Regions from separate parts of the Homo sapiens genome. Here region 1 is linked to region 2. The links are contacts of gene promoters, found by promoter capture Hi-C in human tissues and cell types (Jung and others, 2019). All regions are on one chromosome and are shown on one strand. Each heading gives the region's core, a stretch centred on a gene start or on the middle of the fragment in contact. The rest is flanking DNA. Distances are from core to core; before and after follow the strand shown.

Evidence for each region. The method cuts DNA at HindIII sites, captures the fragments that hold promoters and counts their contacts. A contact is called where the count stands out against the background at its distance.
Region 1: a fragment that was not itself captured here is called in contact with the fragment with the promoter of RAD51AP1 in region 2 in 1 of the 25 tissues and cell types used here (H1 embryonic stem cells).

The regions. Positions count from the first base shown.
Region 1 is chr12:4,674,437-4,680,534 of GRCh38, forward strand. All of the region lies in intron 8 of NDUFA9 (NADH:ubiquinone oxidoreductase subunit A9), which reads left to right. Among named protein-coding and RNA genes, the nearest start is that of NDUFA9, 28 kb to the left of the region's middle. The HindIII fragment of the contact is 9,697 bases long and covers 1-6,098 here.
Region 2 is chr12:4,535,968-4,541,522 of GRCh38, forward strand. RAD51AP1 (RAD51 associated protein 1) reads left to right here and starts at 2,923. Exons shown (of 9, transcript NM_006479.5): 1 at 2,923-2,989. The coding sequence starts at 2,973. It overlaps FERRY3 (FERRY endosomal RAB5 effector complex subunit 3), which reads right to left and starts at 2,502. Exons shown (of 14, transcript NM_020374.4): 1 at 2,442-2,502; 2 at 50-252. The coding sequence starts at 227. RefSeq lists enhancers at 2,137-2,746, 2,747-3,355 and a silencer at 2,482-2,531. The HindIII fragment of the contact is 8,045 bases long and covers 277-5,555 here.

The DNA.
Region 1 (6,098 bases), core at 2,707-5,206, 140 kb after region 2:
CATGCAAAGACACACATAGGCTCAAAATAAAGGGATGGAGGAATATTTACCAAGCAAATGGAAAGCAAAAAAAGGCAGGAGTTGCAATCCTACTCTGATAAAACAGACTTTAAACCAACAAAGATCAAAAGAGACAAGGGCATTACATAATGGTAAAGGGATCAATGCAACAAGAAGAGCTAACTATCCTGAATATATATGCTCCCAATACAGGAGCACCCAGATTCAAAAAGCAAGTTCTTGGAGACCTACAAAGAGACTTAGACTCCCACACAATAATAGTGGGAGACTTTAACACCCCACTGTCAATATTAGAAAGATCAACGAGACAGAAAATTAACAAGGATATCCAGGACTTGAACTCAGCTCTGGACCAAGTGGACCTAATAGACGTCTACAGAACTCTCCACCCCAAATCAACAGAATATAATTTCTTCTCAGCACCACATTGCACTTCTTCTAAAATTGACCACATAATTGAAAGTAAAACAGTTCTCAGCAAATGCGAAAGAACAGAAATCATAACAGTCTCTCAGACCACAGGACAATCAAATTAGAACTCAGGATTAAGAAACTCACTCAAAACTGCACAACTACATGGAAACTGAACAACCTGCTCCTGAATGACTACGGGCTAAATAATGAAATGAAGGCAGAAATAAAGATGTTCTTTGAAACCGATGAGAACAAAGACACAACATTCCAGAATCTCTGGAGCACATTTAAAACAGTGTGTAGAGGGAAATTTATAGCACTAAATGCCCACAAGAGAAAGCAGGAATGATCTAAAATTGACACTCTAACATCACATTTAAAAGAACTAGAGAAGCAGGAACAAACAAATTTAAAAGCTAGCAGAAGGCAAGAAATAGCTAAGATCAGAGCAGAACCGAAGGAGATAGAGACAGGAAAAACCCTTCAAAAAATCAATGAATCCAGGAGCTGGTTTTTTTCAACAACATAGATAGACTGCTAGCCAGACTAATAAAGAAGAAAAGAGAGAAGAATCAAATAGATGCAATAAAAAATGATAAAGGGGATATCACCACTGATCCCACAGAAATACTAAGTACCATCAGAGAATACTATAAACACCTCTATACCAGTAAACTAGAAAATCTAGAAGAAATGGATAGGTTCCTGGACACATACCCCCTCCCAAGACTAAACCAGGAAGAAATTGAATCCCTTAATAGACCTATAACAAGTTCTGAAATTGAGGCAGCAATTAATAGCTTATCAACCAAAAAAAGTCCAGGACCAGATGGATTCACAGCTGAATTATTCCAGAGGTACAAAGAGGAGCTGGTACCATTCCTTCTGAAACTATTCCAATCAATAGAAAAAGAGGGAATCCTCCCTAATTCATTTTATGAGGCCAGCATCATCCTAATACCAAAACCTGGCAGAGACAGCAAAAAAAGAAAATTTCAGGCCAATGTCCCTGATGAACATTGAATCGAAAATCCTCAATAAAATCCAGCAGCACATCAAAAAACTTATCCAGCACGATAAAGTTGGCTTCATCCGGGGATAAAAGGCTGGTTCAACATATGCAAATCAATAAATGTAATCCATCACATAAACAGAACCAATGACAAAAACTACATGAATATTTCAATAGATGCAGAAGGCCTTCGACAAAATTCAACAGCCCTTCATGCTAAGAACCCTCAATAAACTAGGTGTTGATGGAATATATCTCAAAATAATAAGAGCTATTTATGACAAACCCACAGCCAATATCATACTGATTGGGCGAAAACTGGAAGCATTCCCTTTGAAAATCGGCACAAGACAAGGATGCCCTCTGTCACCACTCGTGTTCAACGTAGTGTTGGAAGTTCTGGCTGGGACAATTAGGCAAGAGAAAGAAATAAAGGGTATTCAATTAGGAAAAGAGGAAGTCAAATTGTCTCTGTTTGCAGATGACATGATTGTATATTTAGAAAACTCCATTGTCTCAGCCCCAAATCTCCTTAGCTGGTAAGCAACTTCAGCAAAGTATCAGGATACAAAATCAATGTGCAAAAATCACAAGCATTCCCATACACCAATAACAGACAAACCATGAGTGAACCAAATCATGAGTGAACTTTCATTCACAATTGCTACAAAGAGAATAAAATATCTAGGAATCCAACTTAACAAGGGATGTGAAGGACCTATTCAAGGAGAACTACCAACCACTGCTCAAGTAAATAAGAGAGGACACAAACAAACAAATGGAAAAACATTCCATGATCATGGATAGAAAGAATCAATACAATGAAAATGGCCATATTGCCCAAAGTAATTTGTAGATTCAGTGCTATCCCCATCAAACTTCCATTGACTTTCTTCACAGAATTGGAAAAATACTACTTTAAATTTCATATGGAACCAAAAAAGAGCCCACATAGCCAAGACAATCCTAAGCAAAAAGAACAAAGCTGGAGGCATCATGCTACCTGACTTCAAACTATACTACAAGGCTACAGTAACCAAAACAGCACGGTACTGGTACCAAAACAGGTATATAGACCAATGGGACAGAACAGAGGGCTCAGAAATAATGCCACACATTTACAACCATCTGATCTTTGACAAATCTGACAAAAACAAGCAATGAGGAAATGATTCTCCGTTTAATAAATGGTGTTGGGAAAACTGGCTAGCCATATGCAGAAAGCTGAAACTGGATCCTTTCCTTACACCTGATACAAAAATTAACTCAAGATGGATTAAAGACTTAAACGTAAGACCTAAAACCATAAAAACCTTAGAAGAAAAGCTAGGCAATACCATTCAGGACATAGGCATGGGCAAAGACTTCGTAATTAAAACACCAAAAGCAATGGCAACAAAAGCCAAAATAGACAAATGGGATCTAATTAATCTAAAGAGCTTCTGCACAGCAAAAGAAACTATCATCAGAGTGAACAGGCAACCTACAGAATGGGAGAAAATTTTTGCAATCTATCCTTCTGAAAAAGGGCTAATATCCAGAATCTACAAAGAACTTAAACAGATTTACAAGAAAAAAACTTCATCAAAAAGTGAGCGAAAGATATGAGCAGACACTTCTCAAAAGAAGACATTTATGCAGCTCAACAAACATATGAAAAAAGCTCATCGTCACTGGTCATTAGAGAAGTGCAAATCAAAACCACAGTGAGATACCATCTCATGCCAGTTAGGATGGCAATCATTAAAATGTCAGGAAACAACAGATGCTGGAGAGGATGTGGAGAAATAGTGACGCTTTTCCACTGTTGGTGGAAGTGTAAACCATTGTGGAAGACAGTGTGGCAATTCCTCAAGGATCTCGAAGTAGAAATACCATTTGACCCAGTAATCCCATTACTGAGTATATATACCCAAAGGATTATAAATTATTCTAGTATAAAGCCACATGCACACGTATGTTTATTACGGCACTGTTCACAATAGCAAAGACTTGGAACCAACCCAGATGCCCATCAATGATAGACTGGATTAAGAAAATGTGCCACATATACACCATGGAATACTATGCAGCCAGTATACAGAAAAGGATGAGTTCATGTCCTTTGCAGGGACATGGATGAAGCTGGAAACCATCATTCTCAGCAAACTAACACAAGAACAGAAAACCAAACACCATATGTTCTCACTTATAAGTGGGAGTTGAACACATGGAAACAGGGAGGTGAACATCACACACTGGGGCCTGCTGGAGGTGGGAGGCTAGAGGAGGGATAGCATTAGGAGAAATACCTAATGTAGATGGCAGGTTGATGGGTGCAGCAAACCACCATGGCACATGTATACCTATGTAACAAACCTGTACGTTCTGCACATGTACCCCAGAAGTTAAAGTATAATTAAAAAAAAAATTTCAATTGGTAAAAATGTAAAAAAATAAATAAAAGAGTTATAAAACTATAATAATTTTGGAAGGAAAATAGAAAATCTTCTAGACCTTGGATTCTAGAAGATTTTTACCTATGGCATCAAAAGCCTATTTCATAAAATAAAAAATAAATGGATACATTAGACTTCACCAAAATTAAAGCTCTTGTGTTTCAAAAGACACCATTAAGAAAATGAAAAAACAAGTCACAGATTGGGGGAAAATATTTGTTAATTACATATCTGATAGAGGACTACTATCTAGAATATACAAAGAAATCTTAGAACTCAATGAGAAGATGATCCATTTTTTAATATGAGCAAAAGACATGAATAGGCATATCAGCCCAGCAGATGTACTTAATCACTAAAAAACATATGAAAAGATGCTCCATATCATTAGTCATTACAGAAAATGCAAATCAAAACCATTATGAGATACCAGTTCACAGAGAGAAAATAACAAATGTTGAGGAAGACATGGAGTAATGAGAACCTTCATACATTGCTGGTAGGGGTGTAAAATTGTATAGCCACTTTAGAAAACAGTTTGGCATCTTCTTAAAAAGTTAGCATAAATTTACCATATGGCCTATCAATTTTACTCCTAGATATTTACCCAAAAGAAATGAAAATGTGTCTACACAAAGATTTGCACTTGAATTTTCATAGCAGCGTTATCATAAATGCTAAAAATTGGAAACATCCCACATATTCATTAACTGATGAAAGGAGAAATAAAATATAGTAGCATTCTCATATAATAGAAGTTCAACAATAAAAGGAATGAAATATTGACATGTTACATGTGTGAACCTCAAAAACATGGTAAATGAAAGAAGCTAGATACAGAAGATCACATGTTGTGTGATTCCGTTTATATGAAGTATCTATAAAAGGCAAATGTAAGTAGATTAGTGATTGCCTGAGCCTGGGAGTAAAATCCAGGATTAAATGGCTGTGGAGGATCTTACTAGAGTAAGGAAAAATATTCTAAAACTGGATTATGGTAATGATTGTACAACTTGGTAAATGTATGAAAAATCATTGAATTATATGCTTAAAATGGATGAATTTTAATGTATGTAAATTATACCACAATAGTGAATAGCATGGGTAAGATTTCTGCCTTTGTGGAGCTTATAGATTAGTGATGAGATGCATAAGTAATAATTAAGCAAAATAATTAAAATAAATGACCGAAAAGGAAAGTCCAGTTAATTGGAAAGAAAACCAGAAGGAGGAAGTTGGCAACTATATTGGATGCTGCCAGGAGGTTGAGTGAGTGACAGCATAGAGATTCATGGTCACCTTAATGACCTCATTTGAACATTAGGCAAAGGGCAGATTGGATTGCAGTGAGATTTGAATGGCAGGATAGGAAGTGGAGGCAACAGTTAGGTAACTATTTGGAGAAGTTTCCCTGTAAAAGGGAGCAAAGGAAACGGGTAAAGAGAAGGCTATGAAACATGAATGTCTTGTCAAGGGAGGTACCACCCTGGATTTGGAAGATGGTACATCTTGTTTATAAATTGGTAAGAATGGTCCAGGAAAGAGATGTCACTTCATGACTCAGGAGATGAGGCCGACAGAAAAGGAGCAAAGTCCTTCAGGAATTGAGAGGAGTTGGATACAGAGTGCAAATGAGGGTTTGACCTTTGTAAAAGGCAAACATTTCTTCAACTTTAACAAGGAAAAGAATTCAAGGATATATGCAGATGCAGGTAGGTTTGGCTGTGGGAATGTTAGGAGTATCTTTTCTTGTTGGAATGTGAGGTTAGCTAAAAGGCAGGATGGAGTGGGTCAGAAAAGTGTGTGGAAAATTTGAGGACAGAAGATAGAAAGTATGCCCTGGGAGAACAGGAAAGAGCATTTCCTAGGAGAACATGTGGGATTGCCAAGCAGAACTGAGTGTTCCATTGGAAATTACTGATAAAAAAATAAGGTGAAGTCAATCAGTTCAATTGTATTTCGTCTACAGTTTTGTCCTTCTGGGGTTTCAGGCTCAGAGAAGGCACATGTTTGGGTCAACCAGAGTGAGTTTTGCTTAGCAAGTATAGTGGGTAGGGGCCTGGGAGACAAGATTTTGCTGAGGATATTTGCAGAGGAATAACTGTGATGCTGAGCCTTGAAATCTAAGCTGGGAGGATGCGGGCTTCAATGTACCTTTGGCTGTGAGGAAGGGCACTTAAACTAGTGTTCCGGTTGCACTTGATGGAACACAA
Region 2 (5,555 bases), core at 1,673-4,172:
TATTGAAACTAATAAAGTGGTGTTACTTAAAAAAAAAAACAGTCCTCACCTTTTTCTATAAAGCACGGTAAACTGTGCAGCAGCATCAGACGTCCATGCAAATGACTGGCATTCTCTTGAACAGGAAATTTGAGTGGCACTCTCAGTTCTAAGCACTGACTTCCTACTTTAAATTTATATACAAATTCTCTCTCTCTATTGCAGAATCTTTCTCTGTTTTTCTTCATATTCTTTGACAGGATTTCTACAGAACTAACAAAAAAGCAGTAGGTTATAAGTCCATAAAGAAATTATGTTTCATTATTGCTGTCCCATTTCTAAGAAAACATTCCACCATTCAAGAGATTTTGTCTATGAGCCAATTATTCTAGTTTTTCCCAAGTGTTTATCCCTGTACTTCCATCTTCATGATGAAAACAAAGTGCTTCTTTAAAAAAAAAAAAAAAGACACTTTGTTTTAAACTTGATTTAAGAAAAAAAATTATGGCCATAAAGTACTTTATATTCCAAGGCAGGGTTCTCAATAATAGGGAAGGACCATGGAGAGAAGAGCAGAGAGAATTCTTAGGGAGAGTTCATGGGTGGGGAAATACAAAGCTTAAGAAACCGTTGGTAAAAAGAAAGTCAAAGAAGCAGATCAGGGACCAAGGAGTGATCCTGGAGAACTTAGAGGTTGTGGTCATGAGATCCGACTGGGGGAAGGGGAGTAAGAAAGTGTTAGAAAGATTTCCATGTGGGAAGAAGATACACAGAAAAGAGAGAGTACAGGACCTCCACTTCCGGCCCACACCCCAAAGGCAAACTAGACACTACTAAGGAAGAAGAAAATCTAGTTAAAGGCAGTAAGAATCAACATCAATTAAAGATTTATTTATTCATCAGCCTTGTAACTGGACTTCCTATGGCTAGGCTTTCTCCCATCAAATCAGTTCTTACATTATTTTCTACACTGAAGTTATAGTAATCTTCCTTTTTAAAAAAGGAATATACTTATCTGATCATGTTGTTCATCCGCTTAAAAACTTTCTATGACATTCCATTGCTCTCAGGATAAAATGCAAACTCTTTATCCCAGTTTACAACACCCCTGCTTATATTTCCACTCTTCTCTCAGAAACTGCACCTCTCCTTCCTAATACACAAATTCACAAATTTTATTTTCCAGCCATTCTGAACTTCTGTCAACACCAAACTTCTCCTTCCATGCCGAATCTTTTTGAATGCCTTTTCCTTTGCCTAGAGCACTCTTACTGATCTTAATTTCATTGGATAACAATTGCTAATTCTTCAGGTCTCAGTTAAGCCTCTAGGAAGACTTATCCAACTCCCTAAAACTGGATTGGGTCCCGACAGGCTCTCATATTAGCCTAGACTTATTTGAATCATGGCACTTATCACGCTCTATTTCTTACTCTTGGCTAGAAAACAGTCTTCTTGAAGTGGAAGGAATACTGTCTTGTATTCCATGTATTAGGCAGGATGTTGCGAATGGCAAGAACTAATAAATAATTGTTGGATTGTATGGCGTTTTTATTTTATGGTGCTCACTGGAAAAATAAAGAACAAAAAATTATTCATACGGTTATTTAAAAAGATATCACCTGAAATATAAAAAAAACTCAAAGGACTTTTGTACATGTCGTGGGGCGGGGCTAAGTTGAATTATCCAGACTATATTTTCAAATCTGTATGTAGGCTATACACAAAAATCTTCGTCTATTTCACCATAATGCAAAGAGATAGGGTATTTGTTTTACTCAGAAAGAATTAAAATTAAACGTAAAGCAATACAAATTTTTATAATGTTAGAAAACTACCAAAACTACATAAAGGTATATTCTATGATGTAGAAATTTCATTCCTAAGTATATATCCAAATACACACACACGCATATGTTCGCTAAAGTACACCCAGAAGAATGCTCATATAAGTTTTATTTATAATACCCCAAACTGGAAACAACCAAAATGCGTATTAGTAGGAGAATAGTAAACTTGTTTATTTTATGAGATAAATACTACACAGCAATAAAAAAGAATCAACCACTGATAAATGCAAAAATATGAATGAATCAGGAATGTTGAAAAAAAAAAGAGAAGGCAGACACAAAAGCTCTGGTTCAACATTTAGACTTGTGTTTCAAGAAACTGATAACTTTAGTTCTTTCTCCTCTCGCTCTTTTTTTAGACTAATGGTCTATCCTGAAGCCTGGGTTCAGTTTTAGCAACCGTGAAATCCAGGAAGGTTTCCCATAAGAAAATGGGATGGAAGGTCTGGACCGAACACACACAGCCAACAGAGCGGAGGCTCTGAGGCTCACATTAATCAGGGAAAAGGAAGACAGACGGTCGAGCTGAGAAACTTCAGCCGGGTGAGGGGACTAATCCCTCTGTAACGGTTGTCAGTCTGAAAGGGCATCCTCACTCGGTTCTGGGCTCACCTCGTCTAGTTCCGAAGTCCTGGGCAGTCCGCTCACTCGAGCTGTCAGCGCGTCCTGCACTGGGAAACCAGCTGACTTGCCGACATACTTTTTCCACACCGCGGATCCGCGAACGTAGATTCGCCACATCCTTTTCTATTTCCTGGCATCTTGTAGAAAATTTCTCAGTCCAAGTGCCCCTATGTCCCAACCTGTTTCAATTTAACAATTTGAAAGGTGCAATAAGGTGTATTTCTATTGTTATTCTGTATTTCAGAGACAGGGCAAATCCGCCGTTGTGACGAAAGTGCAGGGACAAAGCACAAACTCGGCTCTGGTGGACCGGATACGGAAAAGCGGTGCCTTGGGGAGGGCGGGAGCAAATTCGCTTTCCCCACAGCGCGTGCGCCGCCGCAAGCATGGCTGGTGATGATTGGACGACTGGTAACAGGGGGCGGAGGGCTCCGAAGTCTGGTTTTGGGCGGGAATTGAAACCGCCGCTGAAGCCAACAAGAATTTGAGAACTGTAAATACCAAGCCTTGAAAGGGACCATGGTGCGGCCTGTGAGGTGGGTAGTTCCTGACATTCGTCGGGGGTGGGAGGAAAACTAAGGGAAAAGACATGAGACTAAGGGGAAAGGATCGAGTAAGACCGGAGGGCAGCGATGGTGGGGTTAGGATGGACGGTTATCAAGAACCCAGTCTCCAGTGAGAGCCACCCGTTGCTCAGAAGTATCCTAGCATCGTAGCTTTTTCCTTCTCTTTGCCTCCCTTCACAACCGTCGCCGTTTCTTTTACCAAGACCTTGTTAGCGTTTGAACAGCGCTTTACATTTCACCGAGCGCCCAATTATGTGTTATTTTATTTGTTTATCACTGTAGTTATTTGATATAGAAAGAGTAAGCATTCCTGTTGTATTGATTTAACATTTCTACGTATAGAGGGTAAGTTATCTGAGTCATACAGCCCAGTAAGTGGCAGGGCAATACTCAAACCTAAGTCATCTCACTCAAGATCCTCTGTGCTTTCCATCGTGGTATTAGAAACGATTCTTCTATTTACACAGTTGAGTGCCATGGAAGCCTATAGTTAGCCATTCATTTAATAAAGTTATTGAATATATTCACTTCTTTAGTGTACGAGGTGCTGGAGGTTACATTCCAGTGGGAGGTGAGGTTAGGGGGCCGAAAATAAGCCTCGAAATATGAGAGTGCGAAAGAGGAAAGCACTACTTTAAATATAGTAGTTAATATGTGACTCTGAGGCGATAATGCATGCACTGAGTCATGAATCAGGGTAGAGGGAATAGGAGCCAAGGCCCCATACTTGACCATATTTTAGGGACAGTCTAATGCTATAGGATTAACAAGCAGTGGGGAGAATCGTAGGGGGATTAGGCCAGAGAAATAGGCAGGTGCCAGAACAGATAGGGTCTTGTAAGTCTTAGAAAGGAGTTTAGGTTTTATTTTAAGTCAATGGGAAGTCAGTGGAGGGTTTTAAGTAGGGGAGAGGAATCTAAGTTTGCTTTTATAAAGGTCACTGGCTGTTGGTGGAGAATAAATGATGGATAGGGTGACCAGAACGGGAGCAGGAAAATCAGGTATTATATCATTGGAGAGCGGTTTGGGATAGGGTATTATTAGTGGGCATGGAATGGAACAGATGAATTTGGGATGTATTTCGGAGGCACTGTGGACAGAACTTGCTGATGAAGTAGATGTACAGGTAAGGGAAAGAAAGAATCAGAGATGACTCCACAATAGTTTTGGTCTGAGCTACAGGATGGATGATCTTTGTATTAAGATAGGGAAGACTAGGAAAAGGAAGGTTAGGAGGTGTGAGGGATCAAGATTTCTGTTTCGAACATGCTGAATTTGAAATGGGTTTTAAGCATCCAGGCAGTGGAGTCATAATCCCTTTGTAAGGAACAGCAGTTGTTAAAGTATGGTCTACAGACCTCTGTGGGTCCCTGGAAACTTCTCTAGAGGTCTATGAGGTCAAAACTCCTTTCATAACAATACTAAGATATGATTTGCCTTTTTCGCTGCTTTGTCATTTGCACTGCAGTGACCCCGATAAAACTGCTGGCACCTCAGAACAATTAAGGCAGTGGCACTAAATTGTACTACTAGTCTTTGCAATGTTTACTGCCATACTCTTAAAAGTAAAAAAAAAAAAAAAAATCATTTCAGTTAAGAATATGCTTGATGAAGTAGTGGAAATTATTATATTCATCATAGCTTAACCCTTAAGTATACTAATTAAAAATAGGCTATTGATTTTATTTTACTATTATTCAAGTTCAGAATTTATAAAGGGGTTTTCACATTTTATTCAGCTCTAACTTCTTTAACTCTGAAGAGTAAGAGAGTAATATGAGTGCACTTTTTAATAGTTTGCGTGAGGAAACAGGAAGTACACATAAAGCACTTCTGTATACTGATGCGTGATAGTTATCTCAAGGAAAAGCACTTGTGAGATTGTCTGAGTTGTGAGCTGAGCTTACTACCTCTTTTTCATAGAACATTCTTTTTACTTGAAAGAACAACCAGCTGACAAATTAGGTTATTCACATTTAGCCATTTGACAAAAATATAGAAATAAAAACTAGAAAAACATTTTATTTAGTGCCTAGAGGAGGGAGGAAAAAATTATTTTTTTCACTTTGAATATCATTTTCTTCTAATGCCCTCTGAAGTAGTACAAGTTGAGCATCCCAAATTTGAAATGCTCCAAAATTTGAAACTTTTGCAGTACCTACATGGCACTCAAAGGAAATGTTCATTGGAGCACTTCAGATTTTAGATTTTCAGATTTGGGATGCTCAGCTGGTAAGTATATAATGCAGATATTCCAAAATCTGAAAAAATCCAAAATTCAAAACATTTCTGGTTCCAAGCATTTCAGATAAGGGATACTCATCTCAGGTGGTAGGAACAAGGTCACTCACCATTTTTAAGTGTCCGTTGCATAAAAATGTTATTTGGTATGGTGGAGAGATTGAAAAGAAAGTAGCTTTTAGTGTCAAGAAATTTATAATCTAGTAAGGAAGATAGAATGCACACACAAAACAGAAGAACACGTACAACGGGAACTTACAAATGCCCAACAGCAATTAAACAGTATAGCAATTAT